Regions from separate parts of the Homo sapiens genome. Here all the other regions are linked to region 5. Evidence: promoter capture Hi-C in 16 types of primary human blood cells and fetal thymus (Javierre and others, 2016). All regions are on one chromosome and are shown on one strand. Each heading gives the region's core, a stretch centred on a gene start or on the middle of the fragment in contact. The rest is flanking DNA. Distances are from core to core; before and after follow the strand shown.

The links. The method cuts DNA at HindIII sites, captures the fragments that hold promoters and counts their contacts. A CHiCAGO score of 5 or more calls a contact.
Region 1: a fragment that was not itself captured here is called in contact with the fragment with the promoter of HMGN2 in region 5 in 1 of 17 cell types (fetal thymus); the score reaches 5.0 in fetal thymus.
Region 2: a contact is called between a fragment that was not itself captured here and the fragment with the promoter of HMGN2 in region 5, in 1 of 17 cell types (neutrophils). The highest score is 6.4, in neutrophils.
Region 3: the fragment with the promoter of NR0B2 here is called in contact with the fragment with the promoter of HMGN2 in region 5 in 1 of 17 cell types (neutrophils); the score reaches 5.9 in neutrophils.
Region 4: the fragment with the promoter of GPN2 here is called in contact with the fragment with the promoter of HMGN2 in region 5 in 6 of 17 cell types (neutrophils, naive CD8 T cells, fetal thymus and 3 more); the score reaches 7.1 in neutrophils.
Region 6: a contact is called between the fragment with the promoter of KDF1 here and the fragment with the promoter of HMGN2 in region 5, in 6 of 17 cell types (total CD4 T cells, activated CD4 T cells, naive CD8 T cells and 3 more). The highest score is 6.2, in total CD4 T cells.
Region 7: a fragment that was not itself captured here is called in contact with the fragment with the promoter of HMGN2 in region 5 in 3 of 17 cell types (naive B cells, total B cells and neutrophils); the score reaches 6.7 in naive B cells.

The regions. Positions count from the first base shown.
Region 1 is chr1:26,776,698-26,780,257 of GRCh38, forward strand. It overlaps ARID1A (AT-rich interaction domain 1A), which reads left to right. Exons shown (of 20, transcript NM_006015.6): 20 at 2,326-3,560. Among named protein-coding and RNA genes, the nearest start is that of PIGV, 9.5 kb to the right of the region's middle. The HindIII fragment of the contact is 707 bases long and covers 1,926-2,632 here.
Region 2 is chr1:26,832,107-26,835,400 of GRCh38, forward strand. ZDHHC18 (zDHHC palmitoyltransferase 18) reads left to right here. Exons shown (of 8, transcript NM_032283.3): 2 at 341-501. Among named protein-coding and RNA genes, the nearest start is that of ZDHHC18, 7.1 kb to the left of the region's middle. RefSeq lists an enhancer at 1,623-1,722. The HindIII fragment of the contact is 2,482 bases long and covers 432-2,913 here.
Region 3 is chr1:26,912,606-26,916,384 of GRCh38, forward strand. NR0B2 (nuclear receptor subfamily 0 group B member 2) reads right to left here and starts at 1,370. Exons shown (of 2, transcript NM_021969.3): 1 at 804-1,370. The coding sequence starts at 1,335. It also overlaps a transcript of NUDC not described here. RefSeq lists an enhancer at 2,837-3,337. The HindIII fragment of the contact is 26,571 bases long and covers 1-3,779 here.
Region 4 is chr1:26,888,597-26,892,355 of GRCh38, forward strand. It overlaps GPN2 (GPN-loop GTPase 2), which reads right to left and starts at 1,687. Exons shown (of 5, transcript NM_018066.4): 1 at 1,090-1,687; 2 at 373-529. The coding sequence starts at 1,500. It overlaps GPATCH3 (G-patch domain containing 3), which reads right to left. Exons shown (of 7, transcript NM_022078.3): 7 at 1,892-2,630. The coding sequence ends at 2,414. RefSeq lists enhancers at 848-1,725, 1,081-1,250, 1,761-2,030. The HindIII fragment of the contact is 6,723 bases long and covers 618-3,759 here.
Region 5 is chr1:26,470,136-26,473,847 of GRCh38, forward strand. HMGN2 (high mobility group nucleosomal binding domain 2) reads left to right here and starts at 2,305. Exons shown (of 6, transcript NM_005517.4): 1 at 2,305-2,492; 2 at 3,348-3,392; 3 at 3,568-3,597. The coding sequence starts at 2,478. DHDDS (dehydrodolichyl diphosphate synthase subunit) reads left to right here. Exons shown (of 9, transcript NM_205861.3): 9 at 1-1,171. RefSeq lists enhancers at 912-1,620, 1,621-2,330 and silencers at 1,700-2,115, 2,000-2,269, 2,530-2,819, 2,860-3,029. The HindIII fragment of the contact is 7,205 bases long and covers 1-3,712 here.
Region 6 is chr1:26,958,588-26,961,939 of GRCh38, forward strand. It overlaps KDF1 (keratinocyte differentiation factor 1), which reads right to left and starts at 1,881. Exons shown (of 4, transcript NM_152365.3): 1 at 1,763-1,881. RefSeq lists an enhancer at 1,319-2,001 and a silencer at 2,871-3,165. The HindIII fragment of the contact is 1,819 bases long and covers 322-2,140 here.
Region 7 is chr1:26,793,739-26,797,129 of GRCh38, forward strand. PIGV (phosphatidylinositol glycan anchor biosynthesis class V) reads left to right here. Exons shown (of 4, transcript NM_017837.4): 3 at 375-1,496. Among named protein-coding and RNA genes, the nearest start is that of PIGV, 7.5 kb to the left of the region's middle. The HindIII fragment of the contact is 2,536 bases long and covers 806-3,341 here.

The sequences.
Region 1 (3,560 bases), core at 1,029-3,528, 310 kb after region 5:
CTACCAACCTGTATATCAAGGAGCTGACTTATTAATAGTTACCATTTATCGTGCTCTTATTTTGTGCCAGGTCCTTAATATTTTGTTTCATGTCATCCTAGCAACAGCCCTCAGAGGTAGGAGGTATGGCCATTTAGGGATGAGTAAATAGGCTCAGTCTTATCCTTGTTGAGGTTCACATAGCTGTCAGTAGAATCTATCTGATTCCTAAGCCTGATTTTATTTCCATTGCATAATATTGCCTACCATGAGAAAGGAAAAATTTTGATAGAGCAATTTTCATATGCCAGGTATTTGACATCTCCCATTTACACCTCAGAACAACCCTGTAAAGTTTAGGAATTTTTATCATTTTATACAGCTACTTCCTGGAAAAGCCAGAATTTTTTTTTTAAGAGACTCTGGCACCTAGGCTGGAGTGTAGTAGTGCCCTCATGGCTCACTGCAGCCTCAAACTCCTGGGCTCAAGCGATCCTCTTGCCTCAGTCTCCTGAGTAGCTGGGACTACAGGCAAATGCCACCATGTCCAGCTATTTATTTATTTTGAGACAGGGTCTCCATTACTCAAGCTAGAGTGCAGTGGTGCAATCACAGCTCACTGCAGTCTCAACTTCCGAGGCTCAGGTGATCCTCCCACCTCAGCTTCCCAAGTGGCTGGGACTACAGGTGCGTGCAAACATGCTCATGCTCAGCTAATTTTTTTTTTTTTTTTTTTTGAGAGATGAGGCTTCACCATGTTGCCCAGGCTGATTTCAAACTCCTGGGCTCAAGTGATTGACCTACCTCAGCCTCTCAAAGTACTAGGATTACAGGTGTGAGCCACCGTTCCAGGCCCCGGATAACTTCTTTATTTTTTTATAGAGGCAGGGTCTCACTGTGTTGCCCAGGCTGGTCTCAAACTCCTAGGCTCAAGTGATTCTCCCACTTCAACCTTCCAAAGTGTTGGGATTACTGGCTGGGTGCAGTGGCTCACGCCTGTAATCCCAGCACTTCAGGAGGCCGAGGCAGGAGGATCATTTGAGGTCAGGAGTTTGAGGCCAGCTGGCCAACATGGTGAAACTCCATCTCTACTAAAACTATAAAAATTAGGCTGGGCGCAGTGGCTCACGCCAGTAATCCTAGCACTTTGGGAGGCCAAGGTGGGTGGATCACTTGAGGTTAGGAGTTCAAGACCATCCTGGCCAATATGGTGAAACTCCATCTCCACCAAAAATATAAAAATTAGCCGGGCCTGGTGGCACACACCTCTAATCCCAGCTACTTGGGAGGCAGAGGCAGAAGAATCACTTTGAACCCAGGAGGCAGAGGTTGCAGTGAGCTGAGATCGTGCCACTGCACTCCAGCCTGGGCAACAGAGCGGGACTCTGTCTCAAAAAAAAAAAAAAAAAAATACACACACACACACTCTCACACACTAGCCCGATGTGGTGGCAGGCGCCTGTAATCCCAGCTACTTGGGAGGCTAAGGCAGGAGAAAAATCGCTTGAACCCAGGAGGCGGAGGCTGCAGCCAACTGAGATCACACCACTGTACTCCAGCCTGGATGACAGAGTGAGACTTCATCTCAAAAAAAAAAAAAAGTGTTGGGATTACAGGTGTGAGCCACTGCTTCCAGCCCCTAGATCTAATTCGAAAGCCCTTATTTTTTTTTCCATCTGCTCTACTGTTCAGCCAAAGATTGTGACTGGAGAGGAGTGTTTTCTTCTAGAGGTAAATAAATGGCCTATATATTATCCAAGGTGGAATTTGGGTCTCTGTAGCACCAGCTTGGACCAGTGTTTGGAGAGCTGAAGCCTCGTCCCACTCCTTATGCTGCAAGATCCATGGAGTTCCAGCCCCCTGGACTTGTGGGGAGCTTGGAGAAGAGAGCCATGAACATCTGCCCACATGGCATTCTCTTCTCTTAGCTTAAGTCACCATGCCTAAGCTTGGGTTCCACTTGGCAGTGAGATGGAGAGAGTGTCCTAAAAGAGATAATGGCAATGACCACCAGGTTGAAAACTGGCCTGGTGAAGAAAAGCAGAAGATTAATTGGGAAAAGAGAAGGCTAAGAGATGATTGGCCCTGGTGGGTGAGGTGCAAAGCTGTTGGCTAGTGTTCCTGGAGATAGGCTTACGTGAAGGTAGGTTGGGCAGAAGAAAGAACTTTGTGTTGGGCATAGAAGAGATTAAGATGAACAATTTGCTCTGTGGAGAACCTTTGGGAAAGGAGCAACTCTGCCTCTCCCAACTGATACAGAAGACTTGGGGAGGTCTCTCAAGTCAATAATTCTGTTCTTAGGCCACTTTTCTCCCTTAATTTATTTCCTGTTCTTTCTCTTTTTAGCTCCCAGGGTTGCTAGAGCTCCTTGTAGAATATTTCCGACGATGCCTGATTGAGATCTTTGGCATTTTAAAGGAGTATGAGGTGGGTGACCCAGGACAGAGAACGCTACTGGATCCTGGGAGGTTCAGCAAGGTGTCTAGTCCAGCTCCCATGGAGGGTGGGGAAGAAGAAGAAGAACTTCTAGGTCCTAAACTAGAAGAGGAAGAAGAAGAGGAAGTAGTTGAAAATGATGAGGAGATAGCCTTTTCAGGCAAGGACAAGCCAGCTTCAGAGAATAGTGAGGAGAAGCTGATCAGTAAGTTTGACAAGCTTCCAGTAAAGATCGTACAGAAGAATGATCCATTTGTGGTGGACTGCTCAGATAAGCTTGGGCGTGTGCAGGAGTTTGACAGTGGCCTGCTGCACTGGCGGATTGGTGGGGGGGACACCACTGAGCATATCCAGACCCACTTCGAGAGCAAGACAGAGCTGCTGCCTTCCCGGCCTCACGCACCCTGCCCACCAGCCCCTCGGAAGCATGTGACAACAGCAGAGGGTACACCAGGGACAACAGACCAGGAGGGGCCCCCACCTGATGGACCTCCAGAAAAACGGATCACAGCCACTATGGATGACATGTTGTCTACTCGGTCTAGCACCTTGACCGAGGATGGAGCTAAGAGTTCAGAGGCCATCAAGGAGAGCAGCAAGTTTCCATTTGGCATTAGCCCAGCACAGAGCCACCGGAACATCAAGATCCTAGAGGACGAACCCCACAGTAAGGATGAGACCCCACTGTGTACCCTTCTGGACTGGCAGGATTCTCTTGCCAAGCGCTGCGTCTGTGTGTCCAATACCATTCGAAGCCTGTCATTTGTGCCAGGCAATGACTTTGAGATGTCCAAACACCCAGGGCTGCTGCTCATCCTGGGCAAGCTGATCCTGCTGCACCACAAGCACCCAGAACGGAAGCAGGCACCACTAACTTATGAAAAGGAGGAGGAACAGGACCAAGGGGTGAGCTGCAACAAAGTGGAGTGGTGGTGGGACTGCTTGGAGATGCTCCGGGAAAACACCTTGGTTACACTCGCCAACATCTCGGGGCAGTTGGACCTATCTCCATACCCCGAGAGCATTTGCCTGCCTGTCCTGGACGGACTCCTACACTGGGCAGTTTGCCCTTCAGCTGAAGCCCAGGACCCCTTTTCCACCCTGGGCCCCAATGCCGTCCTTTCCCCGCAGAGACTGGTCTTGGA
Region 2 (3,294 bases), core at 423-2,922, 360 kb after region 5:
ATGGTTTGTCTCAGGTGACAGTCCACTAGTGTCTGCCTGAAGCTCTGTGTGTAGAGGGATTCTCTGGATGCAGAGGTTAGGAGTGCTGGGATCTATTGGACACATCTGCCATGTGCTCTGGAGGAAAGTATATCACAAGGATCAATTAGTGATGTCTGTTCCCGGTACTTATTGGGGAGTGGCTGCACTCATCAAGGAGCTGTGCCTCTGCCTCAGAGCGAGGCTGTATTCAAGATTTTGGTGGTGGTTGTTGGAATGACAGCGCCTGCCACGTGCTGTAGCCCTGTGCCGCAGGGAGCCCTTGGGGTGTCTGCTGATCTCTCTCCATCTCTCGTTCTAGCTGTCCCTACCTGGCTCGCAAGCTGACCCTTGCCATCCCCATCATCGCTGCCATCCTCTTCTTCTTCGTCATGAGCTGCCTGCTGCAGACAAGCTTCACCGACCCTGGGATCCTGCCCCGGGCCACTGTCTGTGAAGCAGCCGCCCTGGAGAAACAGATCGGTGAGGTTTCTACTCCCAGCTGAAGCTGGGTCTCCATAGCTCCACATTCCCTGACTTGGGAGGAGGCCTGGTTTTCTCTTCCAAAACTATACTAGGAACTGGGGATGCAGTCGTGAGCAAGGCAGGCTGGAGCTGACACTGGCACAGAGGGAGACAGATGATCAACAAGTGAGCAAATAAGTAAGCAAGAAATGCTGGCCAGCCAGCAAAGGCCCCGATGGCAGCCAGCGTGGAGCTGAGTAGTTCCTGGGGGCTAGGCACTGTTTTAAGCTCTTTATATGCATGATCTTATTTAATCCCCCAGTAATCCTATGAGGTAGGTACTGTTGTCATTCTCCTTTTACTGATTAATTAAATCAAGGCAAAAGAGGGTCCAAGATCACAAAGTAAGTAGAAGAGCTGAGATGAGACCTCAGTCTAGAGCACCTGCTCTTAAACATTCATATACACTTATTCATTCACTCATCAAACATTTATTGACCCCCTACTATGTGCCAGGCACTTTTCTAGATGTGATACAGCAGTGAACAAAACTGACAATAGTCCCTGTCCTCATGGAGCTTGACAGTTGAGGAGGAGGAAAGAGACAATAAATAACAAATAATTAAATATCTAGGATATCAGACAGAGAAGAAAGGAGGGAAGGAGGATGAAGGCTACAGGGAGGGTGTGTGATTTTACATAGGGTGGCCAGGGAACATCTTGTGAAGGAGGTGACATCTGAGCAAAGAAGCACCGGCCTGAACAGATGAGGGCTTGACGGTGGGGTTATCTAGGGAAGAGCCCAGTAGGTGTTGGGGAGTGGGCTAGTTTAGGTCAGGTGGTCAGGGGAGACCTCTAGGAGGAGGCGGCACTGGAGATGAGTGTGGTAGAAATACGGGGATCTGGGAAAAGTAAGGCCAAAGCCCAGAGTGGCAAACAGCCTGGGCGTGTGTGAGGAACGGCAGTGGCTGGAAAGACCCTGTGCTCCCAGGCAGCCCAGGTGGCCCTTGATTCCTTTCAGACTGCTGTGTGGGTTCCGGGGTGGCGGGGTACTGGGCCAGGTCCCTAATCTCAGCTTGCTGCACCCCAGCTCTTCCTGCTGAGAAGTGACGTGGCTACTTGCACACCTCGGGGGTTTCCGGTCCGTGGTTAGCTCCTTCCCCTAACAGCATGGTGTTCACACAGGCTTTTAAACACCCAGCTGGCCCTGAAGACATCTAGTGGCCTGTAAATGTCAGAGCCCTGCTGCATCCATCGCTAGAAATCATTTCACTAATACTCTGTGCAGCAGGGAGGGAGGGAGGGCGAGCAGCTGGAGAGGATGTTCTCTGGGCTCTGTCTGCTCTTTGTCTCATTCCTCTGCCCAGCCCCATCCTCAGCCACGCCTGCGAGGGCCACCTCCTCTCACCTACATCCAGCGTCCTACCCCTTCAAACTCTGGGTCCCTGGCCACTCCTTCAGGATCCCACGGTCTGACCTGGGCTGGCCCACCTGGCAGCTGGGGAGGCCCAGCTGTGCCCCGTTCTTCCTCCCCTTCTGGTCAGGGCTAATCATGAGGCAGGATTATTGTCCAGCTCAGCCGGACCCAGAGGTCTGGCTGCCTGGAATCCTCGGCCTCCTGTGAGCTGCGTGGATCACAGTGACAGCAGTAATCCCCTTCTTGGAAAGAGCTTGGCCGTGTGCTGAGTGCTTTCCATCTATTATCCCCACAAATCTTCACAACAGCCCAGTGAGGGCGACCCTGTTAACCAATTGTACTGATGGAGAAACGGAGGCAGGTGATCACAGGGCCAGGATAAAGAAGCAGAGACAGAGTGTGTGCCTTTCACTCCCAAACCCCTTGCTTTCTCTTCTGAGATGGCAGCAGGGACACATCTCCTTCATCCTCTTCTCCACTTGTTTCCTGTGCTCTGGGAAGCCTTCTTGACCCCAGTTGGGCCAGGCCTTCCATTGCACATTCCCAGAGCACCTTCTCCTTCCTTCTCTGAACCTGTGCTGCAACGGTGGTCATTACAAAATCATCCTTTCTGCTGGCCTGTGAGGGCATGGAATTCCAGCATCTTGTTCACCTTGTCGCCATGTAGAAGGCTCAGTGACGTTGGCTAAATGAGTAAATGAATGACTGAAGAATAGGTGAGCTTCTGTGAAGGCCCTCCTTGCTCTGTCAGGGTGACAGGTGAGGAAACAGTCAGGACATCTCCCAGTTGGGCATCATGGGTTTGTTCATTTGTGTGTTAATTCTATATGCTGACCCCTGACAGCAGAGTGAAGGCAGGTGGGGGCCAACAATGAATCTGATAGGAGCTTACTCTCATGGGTTCCAGACAAGTTGGCCCCAGGTGGGAGCCCTGACCAGCCACTGCCAGTGAGATCAGGCTTTAGAAGAGGGTCAGAGGAGTCAGGAGCATCTTCTGCCTGGGGGACTGGAGAAGCTTCCTGGAGAAGTGATGCTTGAGCTAAGTCTTTAAGTTTGGGTGGAATTCAAGCACAGGAGCTGTGCGGAGGCAGCCCTTCAGGCAGACAAAGCTGAGGGAAGAGAGAGTGGCAGAGGGAAGGAGGAGGGATGGGAACGGGCCACTGAGCAGGCCACGTTGGCTAGAATATGAGGAGCACTTCAGATAGTTAGGGATATTAGAGATATTCCAGTTGGAAGGATGGGGTGGAATCAATCTTGTAGGGCGCTGAATGTCCCTAAGACTTTTCTTGGCGAACAGGTGCAAAGTGCAAAAGTGGCATTTTGGAGGCCTTTGAATTCTCAAACTTGAATAGAAGCCAAATTTTTGGGTGTGACCAGGAGACTTCTAACTAATT
Region 3 (3,779 bases), core at 120-2,619, 440 kb after region 5:
CTCTCCAGATTACAAACAGCACTGTCTCCATCTGCCGCTCTCCTGGCCGAATTCCATAAAGACTCCTTTCCTGTCCTCCCTACGCCCCTTTCAGTCATCTCTTCTATGTGATCTTTCTGAACCCACAGAGGAGTTTTAGCTCTAGAGCTTCACCATGCAGCCTTCCTTTGAGGATGTGACTGAGACACAGCTGTGTCTGCCCACCCCACCTCCCCACAGCCTTCTGTAAAGGTCAGAGCAAATTTCTCAGGCAGAGTGGCAAGGGCCAGTCTCTGGAGTGAATAGACCTGAGTTGCCATCCTGGTCTGTCCCTACCTGGCTGTGTTACCTTTAGCTAGTCACTTAGCTTCTCTGTGCCTCTTCTGTGAGATGGCTATTTGATGAAAATGAGGACTGGCCAAGCACGGTGGCTCACGCCTGTAATCCCAGCACTTTGGGAGGCCAAGGTGGGTGGATCACCTGAGGGGTTAGGAGTTCAAGACCAGCTTGATCAACATGGTGAAAGCCCATCTCTACTAAAAAGTACAAAAATTAGCCGGGAGTGGTGGCGGCCATCTGTAATCCCAGCTACTCGGGAGGCTGAGGCAGAGAAAATTGCTTGAACCCAGGAGGCAGAGGTTGCAGTGAGCCAAGATCGCACCACTGCACTCCAGACTGGGTGACAGAGTGAGACTCTGTCTCAGAAAAATAAAAAGAAAATGAGGACCCAATGAGATAACAGATATCAAACCCTTAGAAGCTACCTTCCCTGGCTGGCCCCTGCTTCAGCCTTGCCCCCCACCCAGGAGTGTCTGGGAGCTCACCGGGGTTGAAGAGGATGGTCCCTTTCAGGCAGGCATATTCCTTGGGGCTAAGCTCCAGGCTCCAGAAGGACTCCAGACAGCATTGAAGCCACTGCACCGCAGCCAGGGAGGGCTGGGGTCTGTCTGGCAGTTGGCCACTGCCTCCACTGCTGCTGGGCTCCTCCAGCAGAATCTTCTTGAGTATGCTGGGCACCGGGGCCTCAGCCACCTCAAAGGTCACAGCATCTTGGGCCAACCCAAGCAGGAAGAGGGGGCCCCAGCAACCCTGCAGCAGCCGCCGCTGGTCCTGGGGAGGCAGCTGCCAGAAGGATGGCAGGTTCCTGAGGAAGGCCACTGTCTTGGCCAGAACATCCAAGGCCTCCCGGCAGGTGCGATGAGGTGCACATAGCTGGACGGGCCGGTGCTGCCTACATAGGCAGCGGCTACGGGGTCGGGGGACAGCCTTGAGGCTGGAGCTCAGAAGTGCGTAGAGAATGGCGGGGCGGCTTGCAGCTCCCTGGCATGGGCAGGCCCCTGGTTGGCTGGTGCTCATGGTTAGGGATCTGCTCTCACTTCCAGCTCTCTGGCTCTGTGTTCTGCGCTGTGGGTGCTATTTATATTCCCAGTGAGTGGAACGGGGGGAATGGCCCAACAACCTTGACTCCAGAAGTCATGTTCATTGAAAAAAACACACAGACATTGCCCCTGGCAGGAATGGTGGGGAAGTGGTGGGGGAGGGGGCATTGGGAACCCCACGTGGCACTGATATCACCTCAGTCAATGAAGTGGCCGGTGCAGGGCACAGGGCCACCTGCCGCTCACTCAGCTGCCCCTTATCAGATGACTCAAGTGGATAAACAAGGTCATTAACTCAGGCTGTACCAGGGCACCAAGGCCCCAGGTGCACAATCAGCAGGTGTCCCCATTGGTGCCCGCTCTTGTGTGCACAAAAGACTAGGGCTTTTGCTAAGCCAGGAAGCCAGCCCCAGAGCTGGGTGGGCCTTGAATGCAAGGCCCAACCTGGAAGTGCCTTATCACTAGCTTGTTTGCCTAACCTTGGGGCCCTGCTTCTGTTGTCAGCCAGAAGCAGGCTACAGGGAAGGGAGCCAGGACCCTGGGGGCTGGGAGGACTTTGCCCACTGTCCAATCTAGGAGGCCTCCTCCTCTGATTCCAGTTCTGGGCCCCCTGCAGGAATAAGGTCCTTCAGAATCCTTATCCCCAGCCTGATTCCTACCACTCCTGAAAGGCCAGGTCTGCTGAGAAGAACTCACAGAATTATAATAAAAGATAGTTGCCAGCCGGGCACGGTGGCTCATGCCTGTAATCCCAGCACTTTGGGAGGCTGAGGAAGGGGGATCATTTGAGGTCAGGAGTTCAAGACCAGCCTGGCCAACATGGCAAAATCCCGTCTCTACTAAAAATACAAAAATTAGCCGGGCATGGTGGCATGTGCCTGTAGTCCCAGCTACTCTAGAGGCTAAGGCAAAAGAATCACTCGAAACTGGGAGGCAGAGGTTACAGTGAGCTGAGATCATGCCACTGCTCTCCAGCCTGGGCAACAGAGCAAGATCCTGTCTCAAAAAAATATATATGTATATGTATATGTATATGTATATGTATATGTATATTTATATGTATATGTGTATATATATATACACATACATACATACATATATATATATATATATGTATATATATGGTTGCCATTCTCTAAGCACTTATTATGTGTCAGGCACTTCCCACTCTAATATTGGCAGCCTCTTCCTAAGGCTAGATTCTTACTTTATGAGACTAAAAAAGCTAAAGTGACTTGCCCAAGGTCATCCCACCAGGAAGACAAAGCCCAGATCTTGCCTGACTCCAAAGTCCTTGTTTGTTTCCCTGGACCCACTGGCCCAATTGCACAGCCAGAGCCTGAGATTCTCAGAGCTTGTGGCTAGCTGCCCCCACCTTGCTGCTGCCTGCTTTGCAGACGTTGCCCACTTGTGATCTGGGCAGAAGTGTTGCTCTGCTGCCACGTGGCTCCTCTGTCCCGGGCATCTTTCTCAGATGGTGGAGCACAGGGGATGAGAGAAGGTGGAGAGGCCCTTGGTTGTGTCATGTTCCTGGACCTTGGCCAGTCCAGTGTGGCAAGCCTTCTGCTGCATGCTGTTGGGCAGCCTGGTGCCCTGGATGGGGAGAGAGAGGCTCTGGCATCACTAGCCCTGGCATCTGCTCCAGAATCCATCACTTTTTGGTTATGTGACTTGGGTTGATCCTTGAACCTCGATAAGCCTCCCTGGGACAATAATGCCTGGCTGTAGGGCTGCCATGGGGACAAAATGAGGTCCTGGTTGTTAAATTCCAAGTGGTTTCTGGCATACGGTAGGAGGATTTTTCTGCCCCTTTCCTCTGTGGAGCTGAGCACCAGTGGACAAACAGGCACACCTCTTTCATTTGATTATTAGTCTTAATCCTTAAATTTATAAAGTTCCTTTCATGTTTTTAAATCTCACTGAATTCTCACAGTGTCCCCTTGAAGCAGACTCTGGAGTCAGACTGGCTGGGTTCAAATCCTGCTTCACTTAGCTGAGTGACCTTGGGCAAATCACTTTCTCTTTCTGTGCCTCAGTTTCCTCATTTTTAAAACAGTGACAAGAATTTCTGGAGGTGGATATTGGTTTTATGGGGCCTGAAGGTTACGATTTGGAGGACCCTCTTTAAGAATAGAATACACACTCGGTTACGGTGGCTCACGCCTGTAATCACAGCACTTTGGGAAGTTGAGGTGGGAGGATCACTTGAGGCTTCAGGAGTTCAAGATCAGCCTGGTCAACACAGTGAGACCTCATCTCTACCAAAAAAAAAAAATTAGCCAGTGTGGTGGGGCATATCTGTAGTCCCAACTACTTGAGAGGCTGAGGCAAGAGGATGGTTTGAGCCCAGGACTTCAAGGCTACAGTGAGTTATGACTGTGTTACTGCCCTCCTGCCTTGCTCTAGACAGAGCAAGACTCT
Region 4 (3,759 bases), core at 437-2,936, 420 kb after region 5:
GAAGTGAGAAACTGAGGTCCAGAGAGATGAACTGACTTACCCAGACCACACGATGATTCAGTGGCAGATCCAGAATTTAAACTCATGCCTGTTTTACTCCAAAGCTCACTCACTTCACTCCCAAATATTCACTGTCGTATCACTTTAATTCCTTTGTAACACCTAACACCATCTGTAGCTCTCTTGTCTCCAAAATCTACAACGGTAACTAGCACAGAGTGGCACAAAATAAATGGGCAGGAGTTAGAACCTGCCTGTGGCTACTATCACCAGACCACGCAAGGCACCAGAGGCAGCTACCTTCAGCTGAGATGTCTGCTTCATTCTAGCCCAGCTGCTGCCCTGCTCTTCGCCTGGAACAGAAGCTCTTACCCAGCTTCCCATAATGCTCAATGAGGTCCATCTTGGAAAGGAGGTTGATGTGGGGCAGTTCCACGTGCAGCATGGTGGCCAGGGAGGTACACAGTACTGAAATGAACTTGGCAGGGTCTGTGCAGTAGTGAGAATCCACGAGGTGGACGGCAGTCAGCTGGGAGGGAATAGACAGGGTGAGAGTGGCCTGGAGAAACAGGGATCAGCATTCCCTCATGAGAATGAGGGCTTGAGGACAGAGGGGAAGCTTTCCCCATTAGTCTCCTGCCTCTGTTTCTTTCTAATAACCACCCTGGTTTCCTTCTCCCAGGAAATAGGAGTCATTTTTTTTTTCTTACAAGAGGTCTTGCACTGAGCCTCCCAGTGGGCAAGGGGTTTAAATCCCATGGCATCTGACTCCACTCTTTCATTTACTTTTGCCCACCAATTTACAACAATCTCCATGCCACTTTCGACATTAACCCCTTCCATACTTCCAAAATCGCCAAGTTGGCTACTAACACATTTTACACGTGAGGAAACTGAGGTTCAGAGTGATGAACTGACTTATCAACACCACACAGCCAGTCAGTAGCAGAGCCAGATTCTGAACTCATGCCTGTTTTACTCCAAAGCGACCCAGCCCCTACCTCCCTGTGTGACATGGGGGCGTGGCGTCTGTCCTCCCTGTCTCAGTTACTCCATCCGCAAAATGGGCCTCCCCGCCCTGAGACGCACCCTGAGGTCCCACTGCGCCATTTGGGAGAAGATGCTGCGCAAGGCGCCGTGATGCGTGCAGAGCTCCACCTGGCCTGGGCAGTCGAAGAGGAAGTAGTGGCCGCGGAGGGGGTCGAGCTTGGCACGCAGCCAGTCCAGGTTGGCTTCCAGGTACTCCATGCAGTAGAGCAGGCCGCCGTTGGGCCCCAGGCGCAGCGCGTCCATCACGTCGCCCAGCCCCACCAGCTCGCCCACGTCCACGGCACACTCGTACGGCAGCCCCTCGTTGGCCGGGTCCAGGTTCACCACCGCCACGCGCCGGCCCAGCGCGCGCAGGAACTCACTCATGCCCAGGCAGTACGTGGTCTTCCCTGAGCCCGGCGGGCCGATCACCGCCTGCCCGAAGGCCGTGGTCGGAGCGGCCCCTGCCATTGGCGGCCCGCGGCCCGGAGCAGGTCAACTCACAGGGAAAACGGGGCAGGTAGCCGCGCCGGAGACGAGACTGAGGGCGAGGGTCCCAGTACGTATACCTCGTTGGCGGCCAGCGTCACTCGCCTCAGGCGGAACAGCTGAGACCGTGTCGCGCAAAAGGAGATAACAGGCCGATACTAACTAGACTAACTCGACTTCCGGACAGCGTCGGAAACGGCGAGCCAACGAGAGGAAGTCCCGCCCTCACGGCGGGGACGAAGCTAGACGCCGAGGGGCGGGCGGCGCAGCCGCATTTCTCTCGCGGGTAGTGGGTCGAATGTGGGGTCTTTGCGGGAAAATCGCTCTCGGAATTTCTCTAACCTTCAGACTCGAATTAGAAAAGTAAGGGAGCTCCAGTAGTAAACGTCTTTATTCTTCCGTGACGTCGCACACCCAAGCCACCTCCCGCGGACTCTCCGCTGGCAGTCCCACCCAGTGAGGGTAGAGGCGGTGGAGGGCCCACCCAAGGCCGGCTCTTCCAAGCACCACAAATCCTCTCCTCGCCCAGGTCCCTTTCCCCCTTTCTGGCCTTCGTGGGGACACCTTCAGAGTCCCCAAGGAAGGCTGTGCTGATAGCCTCACTCAACCCAGCTTTTCAAAGTTCTGCAGGAGGCAAAGGGCAAGCCCAGAGATTAGGGTTAGAGACCAAAGACAAGCGGTCGTTACCCCTAATATCCAAGGGGAGGGGACGGGAGGGGGCTTTTTGTAAAAATGCCCCTGAGGTATAGAACCGGCAGGCAGGCAGGCTCGGAACAAAACACCCTGAACCAGCCACGAAGACTGCTGCTCCCAGACTCCTTTCTGCTTCAGTGGTAGATGAGGCCAGGGCAGAGGGTTTTCATCATGTAGCTATGAAAGGAAGCCCCCAACCCGGTCAGTCAGGCAATGAGGGGCTGTCTGAAGCACAACTGGAACCCCTCACAAAGGCCATGTCTGTCCGAAACTTCATGCTGGTGGGTGGCTGGCGGCGGAGCAGTGACTCCGTCTGGTCTTGGGGTAGAGGCTCATCATAGATGGTGGAGATGAGCCCCAAGCCATTTCTACGGGGCCTCTTCAGTTGCCCAAATGGCTGTAGCTTCTCTCCATGGTACCTGGATAAAAACGGGCTCTCAGTGAGAAGGCTGCTCTCAAACTCCAGTTAAAGGGGTTGGGAGAGGACGGGGAAGTAGTTACTACATATCTGGTTTGTCCAAAGACAGAGGCTTTAAATCTGGGTCTTTGTTCTCCAGCCCTCTTATCTATCCATTGACAGTGCCAGCAAGAAGGGGCCTCATATAAAATTTTCATTCTGTCACTACAGACTTCCTAATAGTAACCATCAAGTCCAAACTCCTCCAACAAAGGGTATGAATGATCTTGTTAAGCCTTAGGGCTTACTCTTTAAAAAAAAAAAAAAAGTCAGATTTACTTTATTTATTTATTTATTTCTGAGATGGGGTCTCACTATGTCACCCAGGCTGGATTGTAATGGCGTGATCTCGGCTCACTGCAACCTCCACCTCCTGGGTTCAAGCGATTCTCCTGCCTCAGCCTCCAGAGTAGCTGGGACTACAGGCGCATGCCACCATGCCCAGCTAATTTTTTTTTTTTGTGACAGAGTCTTGCTCTGTCACCCAGGCTAGAGTGCAGTGGCGCCATCTTGGCTCACTGCAACCTCTGCCTCCTGGGTTCAAGCGATTTTCCTGCCTCAGCCTCCTGAGTAGCTGGGATTACAGGCACCCACTACCGTGCCCAGCTAATTTTTTGTATTTTTAGTAGACACAGGGTTTCACCATCTTGATCAGGCTGGTCTGAAACTCCTGACCTCGTGATCCACCCGCCTCAGCCTCCCAAAGTGCTAGGATTACAGGCATGAGCCACTGCGCCCGGCTAATTTTTGTATTTTTAGTAGAGACGGGGATTTCACCATGTTGGCCAGGCTGGTCTCTAACTCCTGACCTCAAATGATCTGCCCACCTGGGCCTCCCAAAGTGTTGGGATTACAGGCGTGAGCTACCACGCCCGGACTTTTTATTTTTCTAACAGAGACAGTCTCATATGTTGCCCGGCTGGTTTCAAACTGGGCTCAAGGAATCCTACCACTTCAGCCTCCCAAAGCGCTAGGATTACAGGCTTGAGCCACCGTGCCTGGCCCAGATCCACTTTTTCCTCTTAACTGTTTTGAATTTCATCCCGCACGAGTACCCAGCAGCCATGCCAAAACCAGTGGGAAGAGGGAAA
Region 5 (3,712 bases), core at 1,055-3,554:
AAAGCTGTGTCCTTTCCCTTACCTCCCTCTGCCAGGACTTGCTGCAGAGCTGCTGAGAGGATTAGTGCCTTTGAAGAGCTGTCTGCCTGAGCAACTCTATTTCAGGTGCCCCACACCGGCAAGTACCAGCCAGCAACACCAACCAAATGCTACTCTCTTTAAAGTCCATTTTCCTTCTTCTTTTTTTTTTTTTTTTTGGAGACAGCATCTCACCCTGTCCTGGCTGGTCTCGAACTCCTGACCTCAGGTGATCCGCCGGCCTCACCCTCCCAAAGTGCTGGGATTACAGGCATGAGCCACCATGCCAGACTTCCCATTTTACTTTCTGCAAGCTGTTTCCCTAGCAGCTCCCTCTAGGGGAGAGGTGAAATCTTGCAAGTTGTAGCAAGAGCACACAGGAAACCCCTAACTTTCCTATACCCCACCCGCCTCTTCCCCTTTCTGTCCCGGGATACCTGGCGGCAAGAGACTTCTTGGCTATTGTCCATGCTCCCAGAATCAAGCATAAATGCCAGACACGGCGATTGAGAAGCCAATCAGTGAACCCTTTGGCAAAGCCCCCATCCACACCTGGCACTCCCCTCTACCAATCCCTGGCACAGGGTTCCTGGAGAGCAGGTGCTGTACATTTTACAGCTTTACAATGGGGCTGTTGACAGCCATAATTAGGGAGGCATGAATTATGCGGCTATAATGCAGAGCCCTACAATTAAGGCGGGAATGAGGGGCTGGAGGCAGCAAACGGAATCTGCCCTATGAGCGTGGCTGTTGAGTCCTGTCTCCTGGGTCTGACTTTCCGTAATATGATTGGGGTACAGTAGAGGTGATTAATGGGGCTGGCATCTCTCTTTGGCCTGAGGTTCTGTATTCTGGGAAAGGTACACAGGGTGGAGTAGGGAGAAGCTGCCCCAGGAGGCGATGTAGTGGTGGAAAGAAGAGGCAGAGAGGTCGTCGTCGTCGCCCAGCAGCAAGGGCTGCAAAATAGTAGAACTCGTGGTTGCTTTGGACAGGTGTGATTTGTGCAAGCCAGGTTCAACCCTTGCCTCAAGAAATCAGATGGGACCAATTTAGTGTCCTTCCACCTGTGAGCCAAGCCCCCATTTGAGGACATCTATCGTATTCTTGTGTGCTGGGTCTCAAATAGAATTTTTAAAGATTCTTAGATGTAAAACTTGTTTGCTAACTGCAACGGAAGAACACCTTCTTTTGCTGCTGCAATTGCCTACCCTCCCTCAGGTGCACTTGGCTAGCTCCAAGACCCTGGCTTTGGACTAGGGGGCACCGGAAGAGCCCTTTTGCCATCACACCACCTGTTCCTCTACTTGTTTCCTAATCCCCGGGCGCTTTCCTCCACCCTCCTTTCCTCGCGCAAGTGAAAGGCAGCCAGCTTGACAGTGTGGAAGGAGGGATTTCGCCAGCTGCGGCTGCAGTGCCCAGGCTTGGTGGCCGCGTCGGGTTGGGCAGCTGGGCAAAATGTCTCCGAGAGGGGTAGAGTGTAGGGGGAAGTGAGTGCTGGTAGACCTCGACGGCCGCTCTCCACCATACTGTGGCGGGGTCTGGAGGTTTGGGAATACAGGGACCTTAAGGGAGCCACCCGAGAGGAGTTGGGGGTGGGGGCTTCGATAGCATTTGGGGAGGCGGCTGCGCAACGGGTGCTGAAAGGACAGCTCCTACCTGACCCACGGCACCCAAAAGGCACCTCTGCATGGAAAGTCTCCCCCTGAAACCCCTAGCCCACCTCGAGTGGGACCGTCTTTCAGGTGAGGTGCACGAAAGGCTTCTCCGAAGTGGCAGCTCGGAAGGATGCACGTCCGGCTGCGCCAAGCTGGTTTCCCCGCCTTTTTCCCACTTTGGCGTCAGCCTGGGCTCTGGGAACTGCAGCCTGTGCCTCCAGCCGCGCGCTTCCTCCTGCTTCCAGAGGAGCAGGGCAGTGCAGCCAGGCCTCGCAAACCCCTCTTCTGGGGCCCCCAGCGGGAGCAGGAAGGAAAGCCGCTGAGATGCGCCGTGAGTGTCGCACGGCTTGGAGAAGTGGGTTGCTGGGTTGCATAAGGTGGAAGGAACTTGCTAGTTTGCAAAAGACAGCTCTTGGCGGGAGCCGGAACCCGGAGCCCGCCGACTCGCGCACCCCTCCTCATTTACTGCCTTCGACGCGCGCCACCCCGACTGCGCCCCCACCCCCTCGGCGCGCCGCCGTCTCCGCGCACTACCCCCCCCACACACCCCCCTCCTCACTCCCTCCAGAGGAGGTGAGTTTAAACCCCGCCCACGTGACCCCAGCTGGGCCAATGAACGGCGGCGGGAGGTGAAATCCGGTTCTAACCGGTCCGGGGCTCCCAGCGCTATAAAAACTTTATAAACCCCCCGGAGCCCGAGCAGTGTGAAGAAGAGGCGAGAACGACCCCCGGACCGACCAAAGCCCGCGCGCCGCTGCATCCCGCGTCCAGCACCTACGTCCCGCTGCCGTCGCCGCCGCCACCATGCCCAAGAGAAAGGTACGTGGCGCGAGGGCCCCAGGCGCCGGGCCACCACTGCCGCCACCGCCGCCGCCGCCTCCCTGGTGCAGGGAGCGAGAATCGGCGCCGAGCAGGAGCCAGCGCAGCCTCCCCGCGCGGGGGCTGGAGACGGTGTCGGGCAGCTCGGGGCTAACCCTGAGCGGCTCGGCTGCCCGCGGGCGCCAGAGGCCATATTGGAGGAGCGGCGGCCGCGGCGGGAGGAGCCATGTTGGCGGCTGTTTATCCCGCTCTCCTCGGGCTCGCCGCCCCCGCCCCGTGCCCCCTCCCCCATCGCGAGGGCCCCTTCCCTCCCCTCCCTGCGGGCGGGCAATTCAAACCCGAAAGGGCGGGAAGGCGGCGCTCGGGGTTGGCGGGCGGGGGAAAGCGCTGCCGCCAAAAAACCGCCGCCGTGAGGGGCGGGGCTTGTGCGGTATGGCCCCGCCCCCTCGCCCACGTTCCCCGCGCACGAGACGCGCGCTGTCGCCGCCCACGAGTTCCCCGGGCTGCGCGCGCCTCCCTCTCCCGCCCTCGACGGCTGCCATAGCAACGGCGCTGGGCTCCGCCTCCGGAGGGGGTTTGTTTGCGCCATCTGCAGCTGTTGCTCCTGCCTGTCGCGGTGGTGCGGGCTCCGCTGCCCTCCCCGGCTGCGCTCCGGTCCAGCCCTCGCTTCTCGGGGTCGGCGAGCCGGAGCTCCTGCGCGCGCTTCGTTCTTATACGAACGTCGGGCTCACTCATTTATGTCCTAGAAAAGTTGTGTGGACGACTGCTTTAATTTTCATTTTTAGCACTCTAAAGTTTGGGAAGTAATTAAGAACCACCTCAAAATCTGCAGTTTTTTGTTCTTGTTTCTTATAGGCTGAAGGGGATGCTAAGGGAGATAAAGCAAAGGTGAAGGACGAAGTAAGTCATTCTCTCTTCAAGGGTCAAAGCCTTGGACTAGCAGAGGCCACTGGACTCGGTGATTAACCGTAACCTGTGTCCTGAATTTACACTCCTATAATCTAGAGCAAATTGATACCAAACTTTCAAAGCGACTTACCTGTCCTATTTCTAACTTTCTCGTTGTCTTTAATAGCCACAGAGAAGATCCGCGAGGTTGTCTGCTGTAAGTGTATGCTTTTGAATTTTCGTGCTTGTCCCTGAAACTAAAAAACATCAAAAAACAATTCCCTTTGCTTCCATGAATTATGGTTAGTGCCTGGTTTTGAATCATTGCCTCT
Region 6 (3,352 bases), core at 631-3,130, 490 kb after region 5:
TATTATTACCTGTATTATTATACTAAAGCACAGACAGGTTAAATAAGTTGTCCAAAGCCATACATCTATCTGTACACAATTGGCCTGGCCCCAGACTCTTATCCACTACCCCATCCCATCTATTACTTGGGAGAAAAGAGGCAGTCAAAGCTGCCAGCTCCATGGACCAGCGTGTGCCCAGAGAGAGCCCATGTTGGGAGCCCTGTCTTCCAGGCTCAAGCCTTCAGGAGAGTGGACAGATCTACAGTTAACCATGCTGAGCTCGGAAGTACGTGGGGCTCCTGAGGATGGACTGGCTATTGTCTTCTCCCCAACCTCCAAAGCTTTAGGACTCTCTATTATTGATTAAATTAATACAACGAGGTGCCCAGCGTTGTGCTAAATGCTGAGAAAACAGCAGTGAATGGGCCAGAGGACTTTCACCTTATTTGACTCTCACAATTGCTCTGAAAATAAGTAGTATATCTCCATTTCACAGATCAGGAATCTGAAGCTCAGAAAGGTGAAGTGACTGGCCCAGAGACACCTAGCAAGAGAGGGCTGGAGTAAGATTTGCACTGTGGCCCGCCAGGCTCTGAAGCCTGCGTACTTTGTGTGTGCCACACATCTCCAGCGGTGGTGGGATGAGAAGAGAAGACCTGGGATAAGGACAATGCCTGCCTCAGTTCCCCACTTCCCTCCAGCCATTGAACCCTCCTGAAGTCAAACTCAGGCAGTTTCTTCCAGGCTGTATCTCCCCGACCCTGCTGCCACCGCCCCGCCACCACCCCGCCCAATCCTAGGAACCTGGTCACTTGGTTTAGTGAGGGGAGACTCCCTGTCCCTATTGTGGCTTGAGGCAAGATTCTTAACCTCACTTTCCTCATCTTTAAATAAGGAGAGACTAGTATCTTCATGCCCCGCCAATCCCGTGAGATTTAAATGAAATATTGAGTGCAGGGGGCTTCCCGCAGTGGCCTTGCCCATGGGAGGGGCTAGGTCACTAGGCGATCTAAGGCACCGCAAGGATGTTCCCGGGGGTCAGAGGGTCCCGGCCCGCCCTCCCTGGATTTCTCGTTGATGCTTTCCTCTTCCCCCTTAGTCCCGCGAACACACACACACACTCAAGGGTCTATGTACCGTCCCCTCCTCCGAGGGTCCCCAGGACAGGCCCGGCCGCACCAGCCTCTGCCCCCAGCCCAGTGCCAAGCCTCGGACACCCGGCCGGGGAGGACCACCCCAGTCCTGCTCGAGAAACAGCCGTCGGCTCAGTGCACCCTCGGCCTCCTGCCCCAAAGGTGCAGCCCGAGAGTCCCATATCCGCGGGCAGCTAGTCCTGGGGACAAGGAAGAACCAGATCCTGGCACTGTCCCCCGGGCTACCACAGCCCCTACACCAACTCTGCCCTCGGGGCGAGCACTACCCTCTCCAGCTGCAAGGGCCCTACCCCGCGGGCGGACCCAGCCTCCCTCCCGTCCCGACGCTGTTCCTCGGGGTGAGCACCAGCGTTTGTCCCATCCCGACGCTGCCCCCCGGTGAGTGCGGCCCCCGCACCCAGCCAGTGCAGCCCTAAGGGCGAACGCGGCCCCTCACCCCATTCTGCGCGCCCAGCCCGGGCGCCCGCTCAGGCCGCTCCCCAGCCCGGCCCGCGCACCCCGGAAGTAGGAGGGTGGCCCCCGAGGAACCGGGCCCGGGACCCTCTCCTGTCCGGGCTCAGCTTCGGGGGGCTCCCGACACCGGCGCCGCCCTGGCTTGCGCCCCCCTGGGCCCGCGCCGGGCTTACCTGTCCCGCCAGGTGAGCCGCCTCCGGCTCAGCCCCTCCCCCGCCCCCTCGCCGCTCACCTGGGGCGCAGGTGAGCGTCTCGCGGGAGCGCTGCACGGGCCGCCGCTAGGGACACACTTCCTGCCTCCGCGAAGCGCTACCGCGCACCTGGACCGAGGCCCCGCCCCGGGGCTCTGCAGAGCTGCGCGTCCCCGCTCGAGTGCTCGGCCCGTTCAGCCTAGTCCGGGTAGGTGAGGTGTGGCGGGGAGGGGTCGAGAGGCGCTGGGGCTCAGTCTCCTCTTCTGTTCAACAGGCTGGTGGTCCTGTCAGTCTCTGAGCACCTGTGGAACTTCTGCCCGGCCGTAAAGCTCCAACTCAAAGGGAAGCTCTCTTCTGGGAAGCTTTCCCTGATCCTGTCTGTTTTTCTGTTGGTTAGAACAGTCCCTGTACTCAGCACACTGTCGTTTTGTTGTCTTCTGTCTCCTCCTTTAGCCTCCTACCTTGCAGGGTTTGGTCTTGTTCCCCTGTGTTCCTGGTGCTCAGCACAGGTCCTGGCACATACTAGGTGTTCAACAAATATTTTCCACTGAATGAGGCCCTGGGCCCCAATTTCTCCCTTTGCCCTGAGGCAGAACTGGGAGCCTGGGCCGCTGATCAGTTTACCTTTTCTTTTGTTCAGAGAAATCTGCAGGTAAAGACAGGAACCTCAGCTCTGAGGCCCCGAGTAGGGTAGAGGAGGGGGACCGGATATGCAGCTCTGAAAGATACATCCAGGATCAGAAGTGGTGGCCAAAATGGGCCATGGTCACTACATCCAAAAAAGGTCTCTGCAAGAGGCAACACCATTGAATGTCAATAAGGCAAGGCTCAGACTATTCTGGGTTACTGTTCCCCTTAATATTAATAACAACTCAATAACTTAACAATAGCATTAATAAACAAGTGACTTGGCCGGGCGCAGTGGCTCATGCCTGTAATCCCAGCACTTTGGGAGGCCGAGGCGGGAGGATCGCGAGGTGGGAGTTTGAGACCAGCCTGGCCAACATAGTGAAACCCAGTCTCTACTAAAAATACAAAAAATTAGCCTAGCATGGTAGCAAGTGCCTGTAATCCCAGCTACTCGGGAGGCTGAGGCAGGAGAATGGCTTGAACCCAGCAGGCAGAGGTTGCAGTGAGCCGAGATCGCGCCATTGCACTCCAGCCTGGGCGACAGAGCGAGACTCTGTCTCAAATAAACAAAACAAACAAACAAACAAGTGACTTTTAGGGAGCATCTCCAGGAGCCATGCATGCCGAAGCCGTTAATCTGTGAAGTGGGTCAGGTATTATCATATCCATTTTACAGTAAGAGGAAACTGAAGCTTAGAGAGGGGACATTGTTTGCTCAGGCAGTTGGCACAAACTGACTTTTGGCAAGGCACTTTCCTTCTCTAAACCTAATCTCTGGAGATAGTAGTACCTCTCTTTAACTGGGAGGATTAAAAGAGATCATGGATGCAACAGGAAGATATCACTGGGATGCATTAGGCATAGGTGTTCAATTTCCACCAGAGACCCTCCATCCCAGCGCCTCCCACCACATCTTGTCCACATTCCCTCCTGAGGAAAGTG
Region 7 (3,391 bases), core at 824-3,323, 320 kb after region 5:
ACTACAGGCATGTGCCACCACACCCAGCTAATTTTTATTTTTTTATTTCTAGTAGAGACAAGGTCTTGCTACGTTGCCCAGGCTGGTCTTAAACTCCTCGGCTCAAGTGATCCTTCCACCTCAGCCTCCCAAAGTGCCGGGATAACAGGCGTGAGCCACTGTGCTCAGACTTTTTTTTTTAGTTTTTATAGAGACAAGGTCTTGCTATGTTGCCCAGGCTGGTCATGGACTCCTGGGTTCAAGTAATCCTCCCATCTCAGCCTGCCAAAGTGGGGATTACAGGCATGAGCCTGGCCTTCTTCCTCATTTTATTAAATGGCAATTCTTTTCTTCCAGTTACTCAACCAAAATTCTGGTTTTTCTTTACTCCACAGGCCCTCTTCAATGCCATCATCCCAGATCACCATGCAGAAGCCTTCTCTCCTCCTCGCCTGGCCCCCTCAGGCTTTGTGGACCAACTCGTGGAAGGTCTTCTGGGCGGCCTGTCTCACTGGGATGCTGAACACTTCTTGTTCATTGCTGAGCATGGCTACCTGTATGAGCACAACTTTGCCTTCTTTCCTGGTTTCCCCTTGGCCCTGCTGGTGGGGACTGAACTGTTGAGACCCTTACGGGGGTTACTGAGTCTACGCAGTTGCCTGCTGATTTCGGTAGCATCACTCAATTTCTTGTTCTTCATGTTGGCTGCAGTTGCACTTCATGACCTGGGTTGTCTGGTTTTGCACTGTCCCCACCAGTCCTTTTATGCAGCTCTGCTTTTCTGTCTCAGCCCTGCCAATGTCTTCCTGGCAGCTGGTTACTCAGAAGCTTTGTTTGCCCTCCTGACATTCAGTGCCATGGGGCAGCTGGAGAGGGGCCGAGTCTGGACTAGTGTACTCCTCTTTGCCTTTGCCACTGGGGTACGCTCCAACGGGCTGGTCAGTGTTGGCTTCCTCATGCATTCTCAATGCCAAGGCTTTTTCTCTTCTCTAACGATGCTGAATCCTCTGAGACAGCTCTTTAAGCTGATGGCCTCTCTGTTTCTGTCGGTGTTCACACTTGGCCTTCCCTTTGCCCTCTTTCAGTATTATGCCTACACCCAATTCTGTCTGCCAGGCTCAGCCCGCCCCATTCCTGAGCCTTTGGTACAGTTAGCTGTAGACAAGGGCTACCGGATTGCAGAGGGAAATGAACCGCCTTGGTGCTTCTGGGATGTTCCACTAATATACAGCTATATCCAGGATGTCTACTGGAATGTTGGCTTTTTGAAATACTATGAGCTCAAGCAGGTGCCCAATTTTCTACTGGCTGCACCAGTGGCTATACTGGTTGCCTGGGCAACTTGGACATACGTGACCACTCACCCTTGGCTCTGCCTTACACTTGGGCTGCAAAGGAGCAAGAACAATAAGACCCTAGAGAAGCCCGATCTTGGATTCCTCAGTCCTCAGGTGTTTGTGTACGTGGTCCACGCTGCAGTGCTGCTGCTGTTTGGAGGTCTGTGCATGCATGTTCAGGTGAGGTGGATTCCTGACTGGGATAAGGATGTGAATACAGGCAAAACCCCTTGGCCAAGGACAGGGAAGGCAGCTAACATCTCCCGTTTGAGTGATCCATACTGAATTTATTCATTCAATGACTATTTAGGGTTATTCTTTATGCCAGACTCTGGGTCAGACCTCTAAGGATGAAACATAAATAAGACAAAATTGCGGCCAGGCGCGGTGGCTCACACCCATAATCCCAGCAATTTGGGAGGCTGAGGTGGGTGGATCACAAGGTCAGGGGTTCAAGACCAGCGTGGCCAAGATGTTGAAACCTTGTCTCTACTGAAAATACAAAAATTAGCCGGGCGTGGTGGCAGGCACCTGTAATCCCAGCTACTCAGAAGGCTGAGGCAGAAAATTGCTTGAACCCGGGAGGTGGAGGTTGCAGTGAGCTGACATTGCACCACTGCACTCCAGCCTGGGCGACAGAGTGAGACTCTATCTCAAAAAAAAAAAAAAAAAAAAAAAAAATTACTGCCTTGGGGGGTCTCATGGTATAAATAGGAGGACAGACATTTGACATAAATTATAGTACAGTGGGATAGAAAAGGGAGTGCTATTTTGAGATTTATTTTATTTTACTTTATTTATTTATTTATTTATTTATTTTTTTAGATGGAGTCTCGCTCTGTTGCCCAGGCTGGAGTGCAGTGGTGCGATCTCAGCTCACTGCAACCTGTGTCTCCTGGGTTCAAGCGACTCTTCTGCCTCAATCTCCCGAGTAGCTGGAATTCCAGGCGCCTGCCACCACCGCCTAGCTAATTTTTGTATTTTTAGTAGAGATGGGGTTTCACCACGTTGGCCAGGCTGGTCTCGAAATCCTGACCTCAAGTGATCTGCCCGCCTCATCCTCCTAAAGTGCTGGGATTACAGGCGTGAGCTACCACGCTCGGCCTGAGATTTTTTTTTTTTTTTTTTTTTTGAGACGGAGTCTTGCTCTGTCACCCAGGCTGGAATGCAGTGGCATGATCTCAGCTCACTGCAAGCTCCACCTCCCAGGTTCACGCCATTCTCCTGCCTCAGCCTCCCGAGTAGCTGGGACTACAGGCACCTGCCACCATGCCTGGCTAATTTTTTGTATTTTTAGTAGAGACGGGATTTCACCGTGTGAGCCAGGATGGTCTGGATCTCCTGACCTCGTGATCCACCCGCCTTGGCCTCCCAAAGTGTTGGGATTATAGGCACGAGCCACTGCGCCCAGCAAGATTTTTTTTTTTAAAGCTCAGATAAAGTATTATGGAGGCGAAGAAGTAGGTAACTCACTGGAGTACTTGAGAAAGGCATCATATTTCAGCTGGGTCCTGAAGAATGAGATTTTCCATATAAGAAGCAGAGGAGGAACATTCTAGGTAAAAGGAAGGGCATATGCAAAAACACGAGGGTTGTGAAAGGACCTGATTGGACTGAGATACAGGAATAAGCACGGAGGATATCTCTGGGATCTTTTTCCCTAATACACAGTTATAGTTATATCCATATTGGTTTCTTGACTGTTGACTTCAGGAGGTTCTCAACTCAGGCAGGCCCCCAATTTCCAGAGGAGATAACCTTAACCAATGTTTTGGGTGGTGGCGGTGGTGATAGAGAGGGATGGGAAAGGTTTGATCTTATATCTGATTTTCTGTTCTTGGCTGTGGCCCCACCCTGGGGACATCTTTTTTCCCCATGCCGACCTCTTAGCAGTTTCTTCCTGTTGGAGTTGCACATTGGCTGTTTCTAAAATTCTCCAAGCTGTATGGATAAGAGACACAGAGGAAATAGAAAGTAGCATTCCGTGTTTTTAGCTAGATTAAATCGTAGAATGTGTGCCAGCAAAGCTTAAAGTTTCCAGGTTAGCTGAGGGAGGCCATTTGGAAACTTGTGTC